Regions from separate parts of the Homo sapiens genome. Here all the other regions are linked to region 7. Evidence: promoter capture Hi-C in 16 types of primary human blood cells and fetal thymus (Javierre and others, 2016). All regions are on one chromosome and are shown on one strand. The core of a region is centred on a gene start or on the middle of the fragment in contact, and the rest is flanking DNA. Distances in the headings are between cores, read along the strand shown.

Region 1 (3,212 bases), core at 530-3,029, 190 kb before region 7:
TCATCAATAATTATCTCTGTACATGCATAAGATGTAGATGGAATTCAAAATATATTACATGTATTTTCAAAGAAGCTACTCAATCTATTACAAAATTTATTTTCAGGAAGGATACACTCCTCAGTTAGGTTTAAGAGTGACCCTTTGACAATATTTTTCCCAACTTCATAAATGCAAAAGCTTAGATACCTATATAGGTGGAAAAGTTGTTATTGTGTTAGTACAAACTAATTTCTACACAATTATAAACCATTTGAATTTCTTCTAAGCTTTGTCCATTTTCCTATTAGTGTTCTACTAGAATATTTATTGATTTTTCTGTTTTCCATTTCAGTGACATTTAGTCTTTTAAAAATTGAGTTATCTTCCTTTGCTATTAAACATTTCTTCCTCATTTTTTTACTTTATGACAGAAAGTTTCATTTTATGTATTCAAATATATTGTTTCCTTATGGTTTTCTATTATATTTGCAACTTGAAAGTTGTTTCAAATATAGACATAAGATAGTTTTCCTTAAAATGTGATGTTTTCATCTATTTCAAATTTCTTTTGCTATGGTATAATGTTGATGATCCAATTTGATCTACTGTTTGCTACATTATTAACTATACTAGAACAATTTACTAAATAATTCTTCCTTTAAACCCAGATGTGCAGTAAAAACTTTATCAAACAGCAAATAATACTCTGCATTAAAGTCTGTTTCTGAGCTATAAACAAATGCTTAAGTGCATGGCACTAGAGTCAAATTAAAAACATTGCTGTGACGCTTCTATAACAACTAGTACCACTATTGTAAAAGTAATTTATTGATGCAGTTTTTGATTTTCTGTAAGCAACATATAGTACCATTTATTATAACTTTGTATCAGACATTAATGTTGGCAGGACAAGTACTCCCTCATTATCCTATTTTTAAAATATTTGCTTGAATATGTTCACTTGTTTATTCTCCCAAGTGATTTTTACAATTACTCTCTCAAGAGGCAACATAGTAATAATTATGATTATAATATGGAAATTTTATTCTGCATTATGTTGAACATAAATTAATTCATATGTAATTGATATATTTATAATATTCAGTTTTCTGATTCAAGCACGTCTATTTTTTAATAAATAAGTAAACTTGTATAATACTTTTTAAGTAAATAAATGAGTTAGTTATAAAATATGTTACCCCTATATATTCTAAGTGTTTATAAATGGAAAATTATAACTATATGTATTCTTATATGTAAGAATATATTCCTTTATGTACATACAGTTGTTTTACATATTTGTTCATCTTGTCATCTTACCAAGTTTCAATATTTTGTCTCATTTGATACTCTGTTTTACAGGGTAATGTTACTATTTGCAAATAATGATTACCACCTCTTTTTTTAATTTTCAATTTGTTTGAGATGGAGTCTTGCTTTCACCCAGGCTGGAGTGTAGTGGTGGAGTCACAGATCACTGCGGCCTCGAACTCCTGGGTTCATGCCATCCTCCCACCTAAGCCTTTCAAAGAGCTGGGATTACAGGCATGAGCCACTATGCCCAGCCAATTAACAACTCATTTCTAAAAGTCTTTTAATTCATTAATTTCTGGCCATATTTACTTACTCGCAATTCTAGAAAGAAGTTAAATAGGTCAAAACAAACACCCTTATAAGAACAACTCTTCCCTTGCATGACTCACCTAAGCACTGCACATCTTGGTTCCCCTACCTGACTACAGGGCATCGTTGACAGTGTGACCCTCTGCCAGGTCTGTCAGGCCCTGCCATTTTCAAGGATGTTGAAGATTTAAAATTTCATGTTTCTAAAAAAATGGAGACAGGGACACTAAAAGCCATTAAATTGTATATTTTAATCAGGTGAATGTTGTTATGTGGAAATTGTTATAATGCTATTAACTCAAAAAAATGAGATGGGAAAGACAAACAGTTAAGTCACACCCTCAAAAAAGCAGTTAGATTGGCCCCCTCAAAAGTTCCTAGTTGGAATGCAAATTAGCAGAGCCTTTATGAAATGTGATTGACAATATGTATCAGATCTTTAAAAACATTTTTACTTCTATGTATATAAGATTATTATAATAATCAGAAATGCAGACAAAATGTTAGTTTAAAAGGCTGTTCATCACAGTACAAATTGTATAAATGGCCATGTTCAGGATGGATTGAATACATTATGGAATATGCATGTGAGGGACTATTACCTAGAAAATAAAAATTATGCCTTGAAGAATATTTAATGACACAGGCAAGTCCTCAGAATAAGATTTTTTCCCATTATGCTAAAACATGTGTCTATATGTATGCATGTGTACAATGTACTGGAAAACAACAGAAACAAATGTATCTAATATTAATGCTAGATGAGTCTGGTGATGATATTATAGTGAGTTTTATTTACTTTCCTGAATTTTCTCCCATTTTCTAATTTTCTACAACATGCATGTGTTACTTGTAAAACAGAAAAATAAATACATCTTATAGCTTTAAAAACTCGGGTTCTTTATCTTCACACAAAATCCTGCACATGAATGTTTATAGCAGCCTTATTCGTAATTGCCAAGGCTTGGAAGTAATAACTATGCCCTTCAGTAGGTGAATGGATAAACTGTGGTACATCCAGACAATGAAATATTACTCAGCACTAAAAATAAATGACTTATTACATCATGAAAAGCCATGTAAGAACCTTAAATATGTATTAGTAGGTGAAAGAAGTCAATCTTTAAAGGCTACATACTATATGATTCCAACTATATGACGCTCTGAAAAAGGCAAAATATGGAGACAGGAAAAGGATCAGTGGTTACCACGGATTAGAGGAGAGAGGGGAATGAGTAGGCGGAGCACAAAGGATTTTTAGGGTGGTGAAACTATTTTGTATGACACTATCAAAGTGGATATGTGTCATTCTACATTTATCAAAACCCATAGAATGTACAACACCAAAAATGAACCCAAATATAAACTGTGAACTTTGAGTGAAGATGATGTGTCAATGAAGGTTCACTACTTGCAACAAATGTACCACTCTAGTGTTGTACATTGATGGTGGGGGAGGCTGCCATATATGGCATGTTGGGGGTCAGGAAGTATAGGGAAACTCTGCTTGCATTCCAGTGGCAAAACCTCTAAATCCCCAAAATGTAACTGTGTATAATTATAGAAATGTTCTCTACCAACGTTCAGTTAAGATGCAAGAAACAGAA
Region 2 (2,823 bases), core at 57-2,556, 250 kb after region 7:
CTGAACCAGGTGTTAAAGTTCTTAATGTTCGTATTTGGGAATATACATTAGACTACTCAACTCTATTTGAAGTTATACAGGGGATAAATATGGTTCCATTGAGTAGAGGTTCTAATACTTGTTTGAATGTTCTAAAATTAGTTGGTTGTTTTCACTCATAAAATCAGAAGGCTGGACAAAATACTTTCTAAGGTCCCTTTCAGTATTAATATTTCATAAAACTAAAAGGCAAACTGTACTTGATGAATTATGTCTGACTCATAAGGTTCTTTCAAAATTTAATGTCTTATTTTTCTTTGCCACATGATATATTTTTTGCCTTTTGTTTTTTGGCAAGTCATAACCCAACCATGCCTTTTAAATGGGGGTAATATATAAACCTTGCCTACTTTATAGACTTTTCCTATCAGTATGATGATATATGTAAACTTTAAAAAAAATTTTAAGTATGCACATAAGGTAACATTAACTATTTAATTAAATATTAAGTGATTCACTATTAAAATCATGTTAAAATAGGATGTCTTAACTATAAATGCCAATATACTAAATTATTCAACAACAAGAGCATAAGATTCTACTTGAGGCAACACATATAAAGTTTTATGGTATCTGTAAGTAATTTAAATACAAATTTCTTTATTTGTCTACTAATAGCATTTACCAGGCTATTTTATTTAAGAAAGCAGAAATATTGTCTTTGACCACAGAACAGAAGTTCAAAGAAAAAATCATTCTTTTCTCATTATCCTTTTCTACTGCAGATGTTTTGTATTTGTTTATTTAGATTCTGCCTCCATTCTAGAAAAGACTAAAGGAAGCTGAAAGGATATATTAACCACAAGAAAATTCCAGAAGTGTAAAACTGGACAGAAAGAAGAAAGAAAAATGGGAATAAAGCCATCAATTAGAGCCAGAAATAAAGCTCAAACATGTTTACCATAAACATTTATATATTTCTTATTAGAGAGCCATAAACTGGCTTTAAGCTTTCTGGCAATAAATGCAGCAAGCAGCTCCCAGTGTAATGTGATTCAGTAAAACAATTCCATTGGGAGGTAAACTGATTCTTCCTTGTGCCAGTCTCTGTAGATCTGGCTTGATTTGGGGATAGATTTTTAGAAAATGAAGAAACATAGAAGGAGTTGCGTATCTTTCAAATAATGTTCCCCAAATATTATTTCTCTAAGTTGTGGGCACCGATGAGTTCAAGACTATTCCCTGAAAAAGTATACAGCATAAAATTACTCAACAGTGGCATTTAAATTTTTTTCCATGTGTCTCAACAAACCCTAAATTTTAAGAAACTGTGTATATGAGATATATATACTCTTCCAAAAATTGAGGATTTGATCTTTAAAAAGACTTGACCATGTCCCAAAGGGCCTCCCCACTTTGTAGCATGCAATACCACAGGAGCACTAGCTTAGAAAAGTTTTTCTAAATCTCTAACTGAAAGACAATGAGTGACCTCTGCCTGAAGAATCTACTCCTTATAGCTTGGCACAACAGTGTCAGTCTGAAAGAAAAAAAAAAAAGTCTCACTAACATGAAAACAGCTGTCTACTCAAGTTCATATAGAAAGTAATTCAATAAAACAAACATTGAACGTTTAACTTGGAGCTAAGCTTATAAAAACTACCTATTAAGTATAAACCAAGGTAATTTGCAGAACGGGTCTTTTAAATAAAAGTCAGTCATAGTACATTGAACCAAATAAAATAACATTACTTGTACAAGTAGTTATCAATTCATGCTGCTGTTAGATTGAGATAAAATACGAAACTGTCATAAGAAAATGATTGTCTTTTGTCCTTTATTAGGGAACAGGCATGCAAGAGCTCTGTCAAAACACTGAGAATTAAGTTAAAGAGAAGAGAGGTCAGAAAATAATCATATGTTACTCTAATGCAATATGTGACCTGTTCTCCCAAAACAATATTCCTGCTGACCCTGACTCTCGAAACAGTAATACAGAGGCAGATTCTGAAAGGAGATCAATACCTGGGGTGGGAAGTCCATGTTGAGCTTTCATCTCCTGGCCAAAGAAGTGAAGGTTGGGGAAAGGACGCATATTAATTTATGTGAGGTTAGACTAACATTTTAACATGATTTATGAATCGACCTCAGCAAATGGCTTAGGTTTGAATAGCTGTCTTGAATTAATTCTAGTCTTCTAGTCCAAACAAAGAATATCCTAAGGTATGGAGAAAATTTGCAGAAGTACCTGGCCCATCTGAGGTACTTAAAACTGTTTGTTGAATGAGGGGCTGAATAATCTAATTTGCTATTTGCTAATACTGACAAAAATGGGCATGATATGAGAACATGAGAACAAATACAGTCCAAATATTTTTTAAATGGAATAAATTGAGTTTGTTTTAAAAGAAAAAACCTACAAATCAGTGTTTCCAAATTATTGGTGAAATTCTATTGACATTTTAAATGAATACTTTCTGGCTCTTTTCCCAAAAAAGCTAGTAGTACCATAAAAATAGGTAAAGGAAACAATGCAGGTGTTTTTGTGTTTTTTATTTATTTATTTATTTATTTATTTATTTATTTATTTATTTATTTATTTGAGACGGAGTCTCGCACTGTAGCCTGGGCTGGAGTGCAATGGCGTGATCTTAGCTTCTTGCAACCTCCGCTTCCTGGGTTCATGCGATTCTCCTGCCTCAGCCTCCCAAGTAGCTGGGATTACAGGTGCACACCACCACGCCCAGGTAATTTTTTGTATTTTTAGTAGAGACAGTGTTTCACTCTGTTTGCCAGACTGGTCTTGAAATCCCGACTTTGTGATCTGCCCACCTTGGCCTCCCA
Region 3 (3,006 bases), core at 203-2,702, 200 kb after region 7:
AATATAGCAAAGATTGGAGCATGTATTTTCCCTTTCCTTAATGAATTGTGTTATTGGGTAACCAAATAGTAGATTAGGGGGAGTATGTATCTTTTCATCAACTAAACAAATACAAAAGAAATAAGACACACAAAAAAATGATAGAATATCACAGTTTTCTACCCCCAGGAATAAATATAGGCATTAATCATCAGAGACTGACAAGATCACAAAAAGAAAGATGACACATTTTGTTCCTCCTGTTATTATACCAAACACCACCTATGGTGTTGCCAAAGGATCAAACTTGACCCTGGATCTGGCTGCCAAGTTGCAGGAAATGGAGAGGAAAGAGGGACATGTGGAACTGAAGAGGGCATTAGTATGCAATCAGCAAAATGTGGACAGGGGAAGCTAGAAGTCAAACATCCTAGGCTCAACAGATAAATTGCGAGGAAAGGAATAAAGGACAAACCTACAGATTAAAAGTGACTTAAAAAGATGTCTAATTTTAAAAACTGGTAAGACTATGGTGTCTAGGGATGCATATATAACTGCAAAAAAACTACAAGGGTTAAAATTCATGAGAGTGGTTATTTGTAGAGGCAGGGAGACAGCTCTGTTATGCCTGGCACAGAGCACATGGACGGCACCTCTGGGATGGCTGGCAAGCTCTCTTTCTTGTCCTGTGTGATGTTTACCCGATATTGAGTCACAATAGTTTTTATTTTTGTGTGGTATTCTATACCTACGTTTTATTTTACAATAAAATAATTTTGTAAATTTTAGATCTTTCTAGCAGACTACTTTTCATAAAGAAGAAACCAGGCCTGCCAGTGATCCATGTTGTAATACTGATCCCAGGAGCTCAATGGGAAAGTTACAAAGTGCTTGACGTGACACACCTAGAAACACACTGAAGGGGCAGCTCTGCAAACAGGAGAGCATATTGTTCTTGCACAGAAAGAGAAGTAAATTATTTCTAGATATCGATAAAAAGCAATCCTTGAACTTCCATGACTGCCAGGCTTGTATAGTCCTGTTCCAAGAATAGATAAGGAAGGTAAAGAATATTATACGCATTATTCATTTATGATCAGTTATGTAATCTGTAAACATTAAATTCAGAGTTTATAAATTATTAAAGAAGGAAAAGAAAGCTTTATATCTGCAAGGCATTGATCTCTTTACGGTAGGAAGCCACATAAAATCAACCAAAATGACTTCAGGAGTATTTAACAATTCTAAAAAGTAAATATGATTAAACTTTCTGATGCTCATCATTACATATCCAAAATGCCAGAAAGCAGAAGAAAAACCTTATAATCCATGATATGAGATCGGTGACTTTATCTCAAGACCTATAAGCAGAATTCTTTATATAAAGCTATGCAGAAAGAAGATAATGCTGTGAATTAGAATATACCAATGGCCCAATGAAAAGCAGGACTGCCGAGTGTTGGCTCTTAGCTACGAAAGAGAACACGGTCTCTTAAGTGGATCAGAATTAACTGTAAACCAGTGTATACATGGCAAAATCACTACTGCTTAGACAAAAGCAGAGAAAATTAGAATTAAATAGCAAGCTACTATTCATCTATCAGCTAAAGTTTAGAGCAGGTGACAAGAAACTAGGAAAGCACAAGGGACATGGTTTGCACTCCTCACACTCCTGTCTTGTGAGCCAGAAGTTACAGAAGCAGCCAAGGTTGAAGGCACCAACAGTTTTCCCATAGATTAATTCTCCTCAGTGACACCTGGGCCACTCAGAGGTTTAAGTTGGCGACAAGCTTCAAATTGTCTTGGTAAACTTTTATTAAAGCTAGAAAGAGTCAAAAGGAATTGAAATGTCTCCTCATTTTTCACTCCTACTGAGGAACACTTACATGAAATTATGAAGGTAGAAAGAGGTAAAAAGTAAAACAATGGTTCTAATAGACAAATGCGCTCCAAAACTAGAAATTGAAAAAACAAACTCATTGACTGTCTTTTAAAAATAAACTCTGAGAAAATGTACAAAGCTGTCTATATTACTTCACTCTCACATCTTCTCAAATTCTATAAAATGGTGCAAACCAGGCCCAAAATCGTTTTGTTTCTTAATTTGTCCTCTCCTTTGCTACTCATGGATCTTCCAATGCCAATGGCGCTGTCCGGAATCAGGCCCTCATTCCCTGATGACTGTACTGAGAACAGAAGCCTCTTCCTCTTCCAGCAGTCTCCACCGTGGTCTAGTACCAACTTTTCCATAAATTCTATTTACCTCCACTCCTCATGGTGAACCTTCCACTTCAGTAAGATCCTTCTCCTTCGGTTCCTATCCCACGTCCCCACACATACACACGACGTGCTTTCTGCCTTCTGAATCTGCAGTAGTAACCATGCCCACTTTTGCTTATTCAAGTACTATGTACACTTCAAGGTTTCAATCAAGTCTTCTCTAATGATTTCACCAAATACTCCAGTCCGCGTTGCTCACGCTTATCTCTGAAACAGTACAGTCCTTAGACTCTATACAGACTTCCCATACACAGTTATAGAATCACATGTCAGGGCAAAAAGTATCTTAAAAAGTAGTTAACCTCAGGCTCAAATGTCTTCTACATCTCTAGCATATGCTTACCCAGATTATGCTTGGATACTTGGACTAATTGTAATTTTACTACCTCCTGGAGCAGCTCATTGTAGTTTTCAACAGCCCTACAATTACAAAGTTCTCCCTTATAATCAGCTTATAGCTCTCACCATAAGCTTCAAATCATGTCATTATTATACTTTAGGATCTATAAGGAGGAAATTAAATCCATTTGTATATTCCTTACATTACAAGGTAGTAAATAAGTCACTTACCTAATCTTCTACAAATCTCAAGATATATTTGTGCCATGTGCCTTTAGCAATTCTGACATCATTGTTCAAGTTTACTCACTGTTTTGGTACTTATATGCTACTGTTTGTTATTTTAATATTTCAGAAGTGTGTCAGCCATTCTTAAAGTCTTTTACCTAGAAAATGTCAGAACTTTGA
Region 4 (3,162 bases), core at 28-2,527, 240 kb before region 7:
ATAAGATATTTTGCACTATTTGCACCCTGGGACAATCCTCTCAAAAAGTGAAATTTTATAAACCACATGGATAAAAGTACATAAATAAATGTGGCATTCTTATTTTTCTCAGGTAACAGAAAGCAAAATTACCCTGTTCTAGCCTACATATTTGAACAGTAAGTAGAATCATAATATCTTCAACAGCTTGGCCATCTGTTATTGTTCCAAAAAGCTTCAGGGAATAGTCTGTGTAATGGAATGTAAAACATTATCAACTGCTATGGTCTGAAACGTTGTGAAATAGAATCTGTAAAACTTTGTAGCCAGATAAACCAATTCAGAAAAATAAAAAGTGAGCATAGAACCAAAATTTGGGAAAAATAAAAGGTAGGTTTGTTTATATCTAAACTTAAGTATTTAAAATGAATATACTGATACTGACAGCCAGTGTTGGTTGAGTATTCATTAGGTACCAAGTACTATTCTAAGTGGTTTTCTTGAATGAGCTTTCTTAAGCCTCACAACAATTCTCTAGGGCATGTTACTATGCTTGTTTTATGAACTAGAAAATTGAGAAAAAGGGAGATTAAATAATTTGCCCAAGACCAACAGTTAGAAATGGCAGGCTAAGGACTTCTGAAAATCTATTTCAGCATAAAGGCAATGACCACTAGCAAAATTTGTCAGAATCAACTTTTGCAGAACTCTAGAAATTAACGAAAAAGAAATCTTTTTTTTAAGAAAAGTGACTAAATCTTGATAAGAATGTGAGCTTTGTGACGTTTTGAATTGTCCTATAGCAATTCTTCTCAGCTGCATGACAGACTTGAAAACCAGCAGCCTTGCAATCACAGTAGCTGTGAGAAAAAGCAACTTTGCAACCACCAAAGAGGGGGACACTGGGTTTGGAGCTCCTAAAAAAACTCGATTCCAAGAGCATTGCCACTATGTTAGCTGTTAGGAATCTCCCTGAAAAAGCACCCTTTCTAGGATTTGTCTTTACTCAAGCTGACTCCCTACTGTCCCCAGGAAAAGCCATATCAAAGAATCAGCAGCAATTATTAACCATTGCATCTTCCAGAGGCTGTGATGCTAATTGTGGCAAACAGGAAGCAAGATATAGGGTTTTTTTTAATATATTCTAAATTTTCCCAACTTTCCTGTTTATCTTTGTCTCTTTCCTGCACTCTAGCATGCACATGTGTGCACGCACACACACACACACACACAAACACATGCACACATCACCTTCTTCCTTTAGCTGGAAAACTTGCATAGATCTACTCATGCACATAAAAGGCCTCAGATATCACTAGTCCACTAGGTCCGCCAAGATGAATCTAGTCTGCTCCTAGCTGACACTCTGCTGCACCCATGTCACCATGTTCTTTGCATGGCATCACCTTATCTTGATATGTTTCAAAGAAATTCAAACCTACCACTGGCACCAGGGAAATGCTTTTATCTCTCTATCTCAACTGTCCTGAAAGTATGTGTGTGTAAAGAACTCCATACTGTAAACATATTATTACTGGGATCTGTTTTTTGAATGTATCATAGAGAACACATGATATATACAATATCTTGATAAACGATACCATAAAATGATTCTCGTTTCTCATCATTACAAACATCAGCATGGCATGAGGTTAATAAAGGAATGACATCTGTATTATCTAAAATTAAGTCTACTAACTATATTTATAAGCTAAAAAGTCAGCCTGCCACAGTGATAGGTAGATAGATAGATAGATAGATAGATAGATAGATAGAGATAGACAGATATAGATAGATAGATAGATAGATAGATAGATATAGATAGATAGATAGATAGATAGATAGATAGATAGATAAATAGATGCTCTTCTGGTAATAAACACAAAGTGTCTAGATTAGAAAACAGATAGTTGAATATTCACAGAGCATCTTAGCACTGAGAAGGCTATGAGAGACTAATGTTATCCTGCACAGACAAGAGTTGAGTATACCACCATGGACTCACAAACTATGACACTTGGAGTTTGGCTGGCACATTGACCCATCCTTTCCTCAGGTGAGGGAGAGTCTTTTATTTTGCGATGTTAGCAAATGTTTACAGGGGAGACGTCTCTAAACCTCTCTGAAGCAACCTACTATCTCTATCTTCCAAGATACATTTGCTATTCAACCCTACTTTAACCAAGTTTGCCAGTGGTCTTTCCTCAAAAAGATTGGACTGTGTGGTAATCTGAAAATATTTCATGGAGAATTGCCTCTCAATAATCAAATCCAGGGATTGACACCAACCTAGTGACTTTCCCTGATTTACTCTACAGCTTTTGGTATTGAATAATGAAAGGTTGAGGGATGAATACAAAGGAAGCTTCTTATCCCACAGGAAAAAATTAAAATGCTTTATTTGCCAATATTGACATTTTCATTAAACAAATGAATGACATTCATAATTATTACCTTAATTAAAACTATCAGAACTTTTGAGAGTATTCATTTACGGACAGTAAGAAGGTACTCAATTGTATTTTCAGATTATAGTACTCTACTTGAAAATAAGTTATTTTAACATTTTAGCCCCATATATTTTCTTGAAAAGGCACAACAAAAATGATCACATCAGCAGAGATTATTTCTTTCATCATTAAAGAGGCAATACATTATTACAGTGTATAAATTCTACTCAGACAAGGCTATTTCATTTAATCCTCACTAACCCCTCCCTACTCTCCAGGAAGACAAAATATTACATAAATACAATGAACTTTATTTACCTTAATATAGTAAAAACATACCATAATCTCTGGGACACAGCTAAAGTAGTGTTTAGAGTGAAATTTATAGGACTAAATGCCCACAGGAGAAAGCAAGAAAGATGTAAAATCGACACCGTAACATCACAATTAAAAGAACTAGAGAAGCATGAGCAAACAAGTTCAAAAGCTAGCATAAGACAAGAAATAACTAAGATCAGAGCAGAACTGAAGAAGACAGAGACATGAAAAACCCTTCAAAAAATCAATTAATACAGGAGCTGATTTTTTGAAAAGATTAACAAAATAGATAGACCACTAGCCAGACTAATAAAGAAGAGAGAAGAATCAAATAGACACAATAAAAAATGATAAAGGGGATATCTCCACTCATCCCATAAAAATACAAACTACTATCAGAGAATACTATAAACAC
Region 5 (3,273 bases), core at 241-2,740, 230 kb after region 7:
TCAAAACCACTAAACTAAGAGTGAGAAATTGTCAGATTGGGACAGGTTGCTTAAAAATAGAATATGAAGAGGAAAGCTTTTCACAATAACCTAATTAAGGAAACCAAAACATTATGTATTATGATTCCACTGAATATCAAGTTTAATATGCACATGCACACACACATATATAATGTACATATATGCACATACATACATGCATATGTATGTGCCACCTGTCAAAATATTAGGAGTCATCTCTAGAAAGCAGAAGGTGAGATTATGGATTACTTTCATTTTCTGTGTATTTCTTCAATGATTTCGTTACTTACAGTAAGTTTGCACTGGTTAAGTAACACGAATAGAGAGAGGCAAAAAATTTCAAGTATGTTTTAGAAGTATAATTCAGTGTGTGTTCAATTTTCATTCTTTTATGTGAAAATCATAAATCCCTAGGAAAGGGCCATAAAAATTCTAAGTATACTACCTTTCTAGCAGTTGAAGATATAACTTAAAACATTCTTTCCTTTTCATTTAAAGAAAGTTAAAAGGAAACTAAAAAAATGTGACTTCCTTCTGTAACATAAGAACCCTTCCACACAACTGCTTTCATTTTCCAGTCCATAACATATGTAAAGCAAACGTACAACATGGACGTAATTTCATAGGAAAGGCCTTAAACTATATAGACCCAATTAACAGTAGTCATCTTGGGGGAGAAATTGAATGAAATGGGTGAAATGAGTTTCACTTTTCATTTTACTGATGTCTGTATTTGAATATTTATAAGTATTTATCAAAATATAATTGCATAATTTAGAAAATCTTTTTTTAGACCTATAGAGTATATTATTCTCTGGATTACACTTCTGATGACATGGCTTCCTAAAATATATTTTTTTTTATTCTATTTTTTAAAAGATTGGATTTCATTCTAAATGTAACAGAACAGGCTTATAGCAGAGGAGTGACATAATCTGAATTATGATCTGAAGAAGTTTGTTTTGATGACTGTGAGAAGTGGTTTGTGGGAGACCAAGATCCAGAAGCAGAGACAATGTTAAGGAGACCACTGCAGTTGTTGAAGGAAAAGATGACGGCATTAACCCTGAGGATGCCCAAAAATAAAATAGAGAAGATGGCCTTTATCATTGCTACCCACAATATCTAGCATAGCAAATGGCATGTAGTAAGCCTCCTATAAAGAGGTATTCGGGTAAGAAAGTTAGGAAGAGAGGCCAGCCATCCAGAAGGCTGGGATGGAGATTACCGCTTTTCTAATTGGAGCTGGAGAAGCGAAACATGTTTCTTGAAGATGCTTGTATAATGTCCATTTATGAAAGCAGTTTCCTAATCTCCTAATAAATAAAAGACTCATATAACCACTACCACAACAAATTTGGAAGCAGGGACAACAAAAATTATTTCAAAACAAGCTTAGTTCTCCGTTCAACTCCAGTATTTAAGCATGTGGTCCCTGAACTTTCATGTACATTCACTGAACTTTCATGTACATTAGAAGATGCTGCAAAAATATAGGAAGTTGTAGTAAGTTACTTTAAAGACACCTAAAAAATACTGCTTTAGCAAGCTTAACATTTAATGATATAGTTGTCCTCTAAGATCTGAAAATAAAAATTTAAATTGCAAAACAAACATGCATTTTCTTAGTTTTTCCATCTCTTTTTATGTATAGGCTGAGGTCTCTACTTAGTATTTCATCCTGAGCTTATATAGCAATAGTTTCTGTTTTACCCCTCTTGATCTGTCAATCTATCAAGCCTCTAAACTTCATTTTCTATTTTACCCATCCAAATTTAAATTCCATGTTGTCTTTATTTATTTTATATTCCAAGCTCAGTGCTCCAAATAAAACTTTCAAAAAAGAAAAACCCATCAATTTTTGTTCAAACATATTAGATGATTCATTGTTGTATTTCTTTTGGTTCATATGATTAAAGATGTAAAAGCAGAAATCAATACTTATACAGATTTTTCAATAGTTATATGGATTTAAAATTTGAGAATAATGTTCTAGAGGGCAAAAGATGTTAAAAACACTATAACAAAAAACAGCAAATTTTCCAAACTAGCACTTAAGATATTTTATTACATAATATGGTGAAACACTACATTGTACATTGACAGGTATATTTTATTATAATTTCTTTATGAAATCCATTGTCTCCAAACTTGAATTAGCAAAATGTTTGTAACACAGTAAAAACTAGCCAGATGTCTATAGTTATTACAGGGGAAGTACTGTGTGCAGAGCTTCAGTCTAGAGCAAAACTGTCCAGCAAAATTGTCTGCCACAAGAAAAATGTTCTGTATCTGTCTACATAGTAGCCACTAACCAGCCACCTGCAGGCATCAAGCACTTAAAATGTGGATAGTGCAAATGAATAAATACATTTTTAATTTTAATTTTAATAATTGCATCTGGCTAGTGACTAGCTCATTGAACAGCAGAACTTTTAAATATGAATTTTGACAAATTTGGGCAATAGCTTTTGGAGCTATATTAACAGTTAAAAGCAAAAAGAAGCAACTGGTGGGTCAAGCAAACTTTCATATAAGACACAAATTCCACAAGAATCAAGAATATAGGCTCTACTCTTAAGCACAGCATCAAGTTGGGCCCTTACATGGTGGGCTAATTATTTCATGGCACCAACAAGCAAGAATGACATGATTATGCCTAGAATCCAATACCAGGAGTTACTCAGCCTGAGAAAACTCTCCACATGTGCAAATGACAAAACTGATCAAGTGTGCTTTATGTGGATCAGGCAATGCTGTATGGCTTGGTATTACAGTCAAATATTACTTTCCAGGTTTGGATTCATCCCAATTTTATGGATGACAAATTAAGCAGCATAGTGAAAGTTAAACTGCAACTCAAAACTGTTGATACACCAATTTTATGTAGTTTCCAACCTGTTTTCTCCCTAGGTTTAAAATGTGAGACAGCCTCAATATTAAATTATTGAAACCAAATAAGTTCATAGAAGCAAAAATATATTATGCACTATACTCTCTTAAAAAAGGATTTTTTATCTCAAGAGAATCACACTGACAGACTTAATATGTAATCATTGATCTTCAATATCTGTTATCTTATCCTAAATTTTTGGCCTTTTTGTTTTCTAGAAATGAGTTATTTTAAAGAGTGTTCGACTCCCCACATACTAAAACAACACTAACTTCCCAAAGAAAAGAACAGAGTGTTTACTTAATCTTTCATATAGGTAAGCCCTAAACTAGACCCAACTACAGAGCTATGGAGGGGGC
Region 6 (3,240 bases), core at 26-2,525, 180 kb after region 7:
CTTTATTTGCAGATGACATGATCCTATACCTAGAAAACCCCATCACCTCAGCCTAAAAGCTTCTTAAGCTGATAAGCAACTTCAGCAAAGTCTCAGGATAATCAATGTGAAAAAATTGCTAGCAGTCCTATACCCCAACAAGAGGCAAGCACAGAGCCAAATTCTGAGTAAACTCCCATTCACAATTGCTACAAAGAGAATAAAATGCCTAGAAATACAGCTAACAAGGGAAGTGGAAGACCTCTTCAAGGAAAACTACAAACCACTCCTCCAAGAAATCAGAGAGGACACAAACAAATGGGAAACATTCCATGCTCATGGACAGGAAGAATCAATGTCATGAAAATGGCCATACTGCCTAAAGTAATTTATAGATTCAATAGCATTCCCATTAGACTACTATTGATGTTCCTCATAAAATTAGAAAAAAACTATTTTAAAATTCATATGGAACCAAAAAAGATCCTAAATAGCCAAGACAATCCAAAGCAAAATGAACAAAGCTGGAGGCATCATACTACCCAACTTCTAGCTACAGTATAAGGCTACAGTAACCAAAACAGCATAGTATTGATACAAGAACAAACACATAGACCAGTGGAACAGAATAGAGAATTCAAAAATAAGACTATCCACCTACAACCATCTGATCTTTGACAAACCTGAAAAAACAAGCAATGGGGAGAGGATTCCCTATTTAATAAATGGTGCTGGGAGAACTGGCTAGCCAAATGCAGAAAATTGAAACTGGACCCCTTCCTTAAAACATATACAAAAATTAACCCAAGATGATTAAAGACTTAAATGTAAAACTCAAAACTATAAAAAGCCTAGAAGGAAATCTAGGCAATACCATTCAGGACATAGGCATGGATAAAGATTTCATGATGAAGACACCAAAAGAAATCTCAACAAAAGCAAAAATTGACAAATGGGATCTAACGAAAGAACTTCTGCACAGCAAAAGAAATTAACATCAGAGTGAACAAACAACCTACAAAATGGGAGAAAATTTTTGCAATCTATCCATCTGACAAAAGTCTAATATCCAGAGTTTATAAGGAACTTAAGCGAATTTACAAGAAGAAAACAACTCCATTAAAAAGTAGGCAAAGGACATGAACAGACATTTCTCAAAAGAAGACATATAGGCAGCCAACAAACATGAAAAAAAAAAAAGATCAACATCACTGATCATTAGAGTAATGCAAATCAAAACCACAAAGAGATACCATCTCATATCAGTCAGAATGGTGATTATCGAAGAGTCAAAAACAACAGATGCTGGCAAGGGTGTGGAGAAAAAGGAATGCTTATAAACTGTTGGAATGTAAATTAGCTCAACCCTTGCGGAAGACAGTGTGGCAATTCCTCAGAGACCTAGAGGCAGAAATACCATTTGACCCAGAAATCCCTCTACTGGGTATATACCCAAAAGAATGGAATCATTCTTTTATAAAGATACATGCATGTGTGTGTTCATTGCAGCACTATTCGCAATAGCAAAGACATGCAATCAACCTAGATGCCCATAAATGACCCACTGGATAAAGAAAATGTGGTACATGTATACCATGAAATACCATGCAACCATACAAAGGAATTGGACCATGTCCTTTGCAGGGACATGGAGAGACTTGGAAGCTATTATCCTCAGCAAACTAATGCAAGAACAGAAAACCAAACACCACATTCCGCACTTATAAGTGATAGCTGAATAATGAGAACACATGGATACATGGAGGGGAACAACACACACTGGGGCCTGTTGGATGGAAGTATGCGGGGGAGGGAGAGCATCAGGAAGAGCGGCTAATGGATTCTGAGCTTAATACCTAGGTGATGGGACAATCTGTGCAGCAAACCACCATGGGACACATTTATGTATGTAACAAACCTGCACATCCTGCACATGTACCCCTGAACTTAAAAGTTGAAGAAAAACAAAAGGAAAGAAAGTGAAGAAATTTCAAGAAAAGGCCAGGCGTGGTGGCTCACGCCTATAATCCCAGCATTTTGGGAGGCTAAGATGGGTGGATCACCATCTTAGGATGGTGTTTGAGGTCCAGGTCAGGAGTTTGAGACCAAACATGGCCAATATGGCGAAACCCCATCTCTATTAAAAATACACAAAAATTGGGAGTGGTGGGGGGCACCTGTAATCCCAGTTACTTGAGAGGTGGAGGCAGGAGAGTTGCTCGAACCTGGGAGGCAGAGGTTCTAGTGAGCCAAGATTGTGCCACTGAACTCTAGCCTGGACAACACAGTGAGAATCTGCATCACAGACCAAAAAAAAAAAAAAAAAAAAAAAAAAAATTCAAGTTAAAAAATATAAGAGTGGGAGAAAATGTCCCTAGGGACATGCCCTGCTTATTGACATATTTCATTCAAAAGATAAGTCACATTTCCAGATAACTTCTTATTTTCCATATAGTTGTTAGTAACTGAATCTGGAATAGACTTTCTTAGTTAGAAATACAAAAACATAAACAGAAGCTTTATTTGCTTCTTGGACCCTCATGGAAAGAGGCTGGTGGAGAAAAAAGAAATTATGTTATAATTTGAAAACTAGATATTACCATAGTTACATATGGCACTATAACCCCCTAAAGAGTATGCATCTTAGTCATTTTATTAGCAATAAATCCAATAATTAACACATGGTGATCCTCAAATATGTTAATCAAATCAATGAATATATAGGGTTTTTATGTCAATAATAAAATATTATTATTTAAAGTGACTTAAAGAGAAGGTAAAGAGAAAAAAGTCTGGTGATATTTAAAACAAACTCTTTTATTTTAGTATATCAGAAACATATTATAAGAATCAAAGAGAACACACAGATTCAGCAAGAAGGCACACTTCCATCACCCAGCAGAAAGATACATGCTGCTAATAATAAAGGGTGTTCATTAAAAAAAAAAAAAAAAAAAATCAGAGTGTCTTACACTGTTCCTAAGCCATTCAGTCAAGGCACTGGTAACAACAAAACACTTTATTCTCAGTATAAAAAAAGGATTATCAGTATTAATTGTTAAAACTCGCTGTAGATAAACTAGATACTTAAAAATATATAGGCAGATAAGGCAAGAAAATAGAAAATTTAAGTGTTAGAGATTACTCTTTAAAAAGAATTATGATACATTTTTTGTGTTCATCTCAAAAGTAGCTTCATATAATACCATAGGCACAAAATGATGAAAGGTCACTGATGTATTGCCAACTCATTTTTATGAG
Region 7 (3,034 bases), core at 509-3,008:
GAGAGAGGCCTAAGTGATGATATTGAGTGGTATTGAACAAAATAAGACAAAGAAGATCATCTGCCATATTTGACAGATGTTGGTAGACAACATCTTCTCTTCATGTTCCGTTGTTTGTAATTTGTTTTTACTGCTACCAGAACCTCTTACAATTCTCTACTCACTCATGTAAATACTAGCTGCAGAAGGTCTGGCAAAACTTTCTCCTATTTGTATATGTGTAAAGTGGTCTTTCCCTTACATCAAGTTAAAGAAAAAATACAGTTGTAATAGCTACTTCCCAATAGCCAAAGGGTTGTATTTGAAAGAGGGATGAAAATCACTCCAGGTACCAAGAAAAACTACTGTGTGATCTGGGACAAGTTATCTGCTTTTTTTGAGACCCACTTTTCTCATCTTTACAATGAAATAACTAAATTCTGCTCTCTAGGCTTGTTCTGAAGATTACTGAATATACATTTAAAGTACCTAGAAGTATTTGACACATAGCAGGAACTTAATATACAATTACTGGTATTACTATTAAGGATTAAGAAAGCACTGGCATGCAACATATTATATATTTGACAAGATTACATCATCTTGAAAAAATATAAGAAGTATTCTTTTTGTATAGTACTTTAAGGAGGATATTATTCATTTTATATCATTTTCCTTCTCACTGTGATATGTAGAATATATCACACCAAAATTGTGGTTGACCCAACACTCCAACCAGTGTCCTATTTTATTCACTCTGTATTTCTTAATCTATTCAATAAATATTACTAAATCCATTTGCTGTGCTAGATGCTGAGGGAGGTGTGTGACACAGCCTGTAGTCTAGTAGGGGAGGTAGGCATTAAATAATTAACTCCAGTCAATTTCAGTGCTATATATGAAAAAGACAATTCACTCCTTTTTATGACTTGACTTACAGCTCACAGTGCCCAGAAAACTGGGATTCTTGATAGAATGCGCCACATATATCCTAATTAGCAACAATCACTAGTTTGGCCCCATAATGTACATACCTAACACACACTTTCACAGGCAAGAGAAGAAAATACCTATCATCATATTATGATCAAAGTATTTTGAAGTAAAAATACTTCCTCATTATTTCTTAGAATACTGCATACAGCAATTCCTTTAAAAGCAGACTCTACTAGCATGTTTCCCACTGAACAGAACTGTTTGTCCATTTAACCAAAAGGTATTTATTGCCCGGGAATTCATTAGTTCATTATTTGAAGAAATACGTATATTGGGCAAGAATGTAAATCAGGCTGTTTAGTTATCACATGAAAATGCATAAAACAGTACCCACATTCAAAGAGTTCAAAGAGTCCTTCAGGAAATCAGGTGCCTAAAAGTCAAACTGACCTTTAAAAAAAAAATGTTCATAGCTTCCTCTGTTAAATGAATGATCGTTTCAGAGCTTTCTAAATGCCAAACTCTTTTAATATATTATTTCAATTAGCTTTCACAAGCACTTATGAGGCTTGTTGTATGTTTTTTTTTTCCTTTGAGACAGAGTCTTGCTCTGTCACCGAGTCTGGAGTGCAGTGGAGCCATCTCAGGTTACTGCAACCTTCTCCTGGGTTCAAGCAATTCTCCTACCTCAGCCACCCGAGTAGCTGGGACTACAGGCGTGTGCCACTGTGCCTGACTAATTTTTGTTTTTAGTAGAGACGGGGTTTCACTCTGTTGGCCAAGTTGGTGCGTACTCCTGGCCTCAAGTGATCCGCCCACCTTGGCCTCCCAGAGTGCTGGGATTACAGGCATAAGCCACTGTGCCCAGCTGTATCTTCTTTTACCGATGAGGACACTGACAGGTTGGTATCACCTCTTTCCTAGTCTATATTGCAGCCACTCCCTTATTGAAGTTTCTGACTCCAAGTCCTACTCATCCTAATCTACCTGCAGCTTTTAAGGTGTCATTTTTCTAAAACTTAAATATGATCCTATCATTGTTCTTCTTAATAGCCTACAAAGATTTCAGGGAAAATGAAAATGACGAATATAAATTATACTGCACACACTATTTATAATAATATTTAGCCACTTAAAATTAAAACACATAAAAATGTGGGTAAAGCTCATGGTAAAATAGTAACTACAAATAATTACAAGTCACAATCTTTGCAATTATGAGAAATGTTTAAGTAAGCACCTGATAAAAAAAAGGAAAAAGCAAAAGTGATAACAGTTGCTTAGAATATTGTTTCAGAACACCTTTTAAGGTTACCACACTGTTTTAATTTTTAAAGTGGAAGAGAAAGTGCTTTAGCACTGTTGATAGCTGCCACCCTGCCCTCAAGATAAAGTGAATCTTGAGTCTTACAGCCCTTTCTCATATCTGTATCAACATACATTTTAGCCTAATTTCTTACTAACTCCTCAGTATATTCTTGAACACTGCATTAACTTTCATGTCTAACTGCAAACCTCTGCCCATGCTGTTACCAGTGTGGATATGGTCTCTGGTTTTTCTACCTATTTAAATGTCACTTTGTATGGAATTCTATTTCATGTTTAGGCACACTGCATGAAATTATTACTTCAACTATCAGGTTCTTTCACAATTCACAACTTCTTGAGAGCATGGAACATATCCTATGTATTTTTAGTATTTTCTCAATGCCTAGTGTAAGACATATGGCAGAGAGTAAGTGTGCAACAAAATTGTGTTAATATTCATATTTTTCATAAGTGAAAACAATTTTTTTGTTGATATGATGCTTTGATGGTTTCTGATTTAAGGTTAGGATGTTAAACGGACTCTATTTTTACATGACCATAATTCTACTCCCCAATTCTGTTCCTAAATCTTTAGTGAGCTAAGAATTCAGATTCATGGTAAGGTTAGAATTGTGCTGGACTGCTTGTGACTTCAACTATCCATCTTCCATGGTCAGTTCTTGATCAACTGATACAGTTTGGGTGTTTGTGCCCTCCAAATCTCATGCTGAGATGTATTCCCCAATGCTGGAGATGGGACTTGGTGGGAGGTTTTTGGTTTTGGGGGTTGGCTCTCTCACGAATGCCTTGG

Evidence for each region. The method cuts DNA at HindIII sites, captures the fragments that hold promoters and counts their contacts. A CHiCAGO score of 5 or more calls a contact.
Region 1: a contact is called between a fragment that was not itself captured here and the fragment with the promoter of PTPRK-AS1 in region 7, in 4 of 17 cell types (naive CD8 T cells, total CD8 T cells, non-activated CD4 T cells and 1 more). The highest score is 7.4, in naive CD8 T cells.
Region 2: a contact is called between a fragment that was not itself captured here and the fragment with the promoter of PTPRK-AS1 in region 7, in 4 of 17 cell types (fetal thymus, M2 macrophages, non-activated CD4 T cells and 1 more). The highest score is 6.7, in fetal thymus.
Region 3: a contact is called between a fragment that was not itself captured here and the fragment with the promoter of PTPRK-AS1 in region 7, in 1 of 17 cell types (fetal thymus). The highest score is 5.8, in fetal thymus.
Region 4: a fragment that was not itself captured here is called in contact with the fragment with the promoter of PTPRK-AS1 in region 7 in 2 of 17 cell types (total CD8 T cells and naive CD8 T cells); the score reaches 7.4 in total CD8 T cells.
Region 5: a contact is called between a fragment that was not itself captured here and the fragment with the promoter of PTPRK-AS1 in region 7, in 8 of 17 cell types (total CD8 T cells, non-activated CD4 T cells, total CD4 T cells and 5 more). The highest score is 9.0, in total CD8 T cells.
Region 6: a fragment that was not itself captured here is called in contact with the fragment with the promoter of PTPRK-AS1 in region 7 in 1 of 17 cell types (M2 macrophages); the score reaches 5.6 in M2 macrophages.

Annotation. Positions count from the first base shown.
Region 1 is chr6:127,838,119-127,841,330 of GRCh38, forward strand. The region is part of intron 2 of THEMIS (thymocyte selection associated); the gene reads right to left. Among named protein-coding and RNA genes, the nearest start is that of THEMIS, 61 kb to the right of the region's middle. The HindIII fragment of the contact is 3,024 bases long and covers 268-3,212 here.
Region 2 is chr6:128,275,594-128,278,416 of GRCh38, forward strand. All of the region lies in intron 3 of PTPRK (protein tyrosine phosphatase receptor type K), which reads right to left. Among named protein-coding and RNA genes, the nearest start is that of PTPRK, 240 kb to the right of the region's middle. The HindIII fragment of the contact is 639 bases long and covers 988-1,626 here.
Region 3 is chr6:128,229,848-128,232,853 of GRCh38, forward strand. The region is part of intron 5 of PTPRK (protein tyrosine phosphatase receptor type K); the gene reads right to left. Among named protein-coding and RNA genes, the nearest start is that of PTPRK-AS1, 200 kb to the left of the region's middle. The HindIII fragment of the contact is 630 bases long and covers 1,138-1,767 here.
Region 4 is chr6:127,786,085-127,789,246 of GRCh38, forward strand. The region is part of intron 4 of THEMIS (thymocyte selection associated); the gene reads right to left. Among named protein-coding and RNA genes, the nearest start is that of THEMIS, 110 kb to the right of the region's middle. The HindIII fragment of the contact is 2,130 bases long and covers 213-2,342 here.
Region 5 is chr6:128,259,308-128,262,580 of GRCh38, forward strand. All of the region lies in intron 3 of PTPRK (protein tyrosine phosphatase receptor type K), which reads right to left. Among named protein-coding and RNA genes, the nearest start is that of PTPRK-AS1, 230 kb to the left of the region's middle. The HindIII fragment of the contact is 155 bases long and covers 1,414-1,568 here.
Region 6 is chr6:128,203,490-128,206,729 of GRCh38, forward strand. All of the region lies in intron 6 of PTPRK (protein tyrosine phosphatase receptor type K), which reads right to left. Among named protein-coding and RNA genes, the nearest start is that of PTPRK-AS1, 180 kb to the left of the region's middle. The HindIII fragment of the contact is 2,437 bases long and covers 58-2,494 here.
Region 7 is chr6:128,026,107-128,029,140 of GRCh38, forward strand. PTPRK-AS1 (PTPRK antisense RNA 1) reads left to right here and starts at 1,759. Exons shown (of 5, transcript NR_125849.1): 1 at 1,759-1,817. The region is part of intron 13 of PTPRK (protein tyrosine phosphatase receptor type K); the gene reads right to left. The HindIII fragment of the contact is 8,791 bases long and covers 1-3,034 here.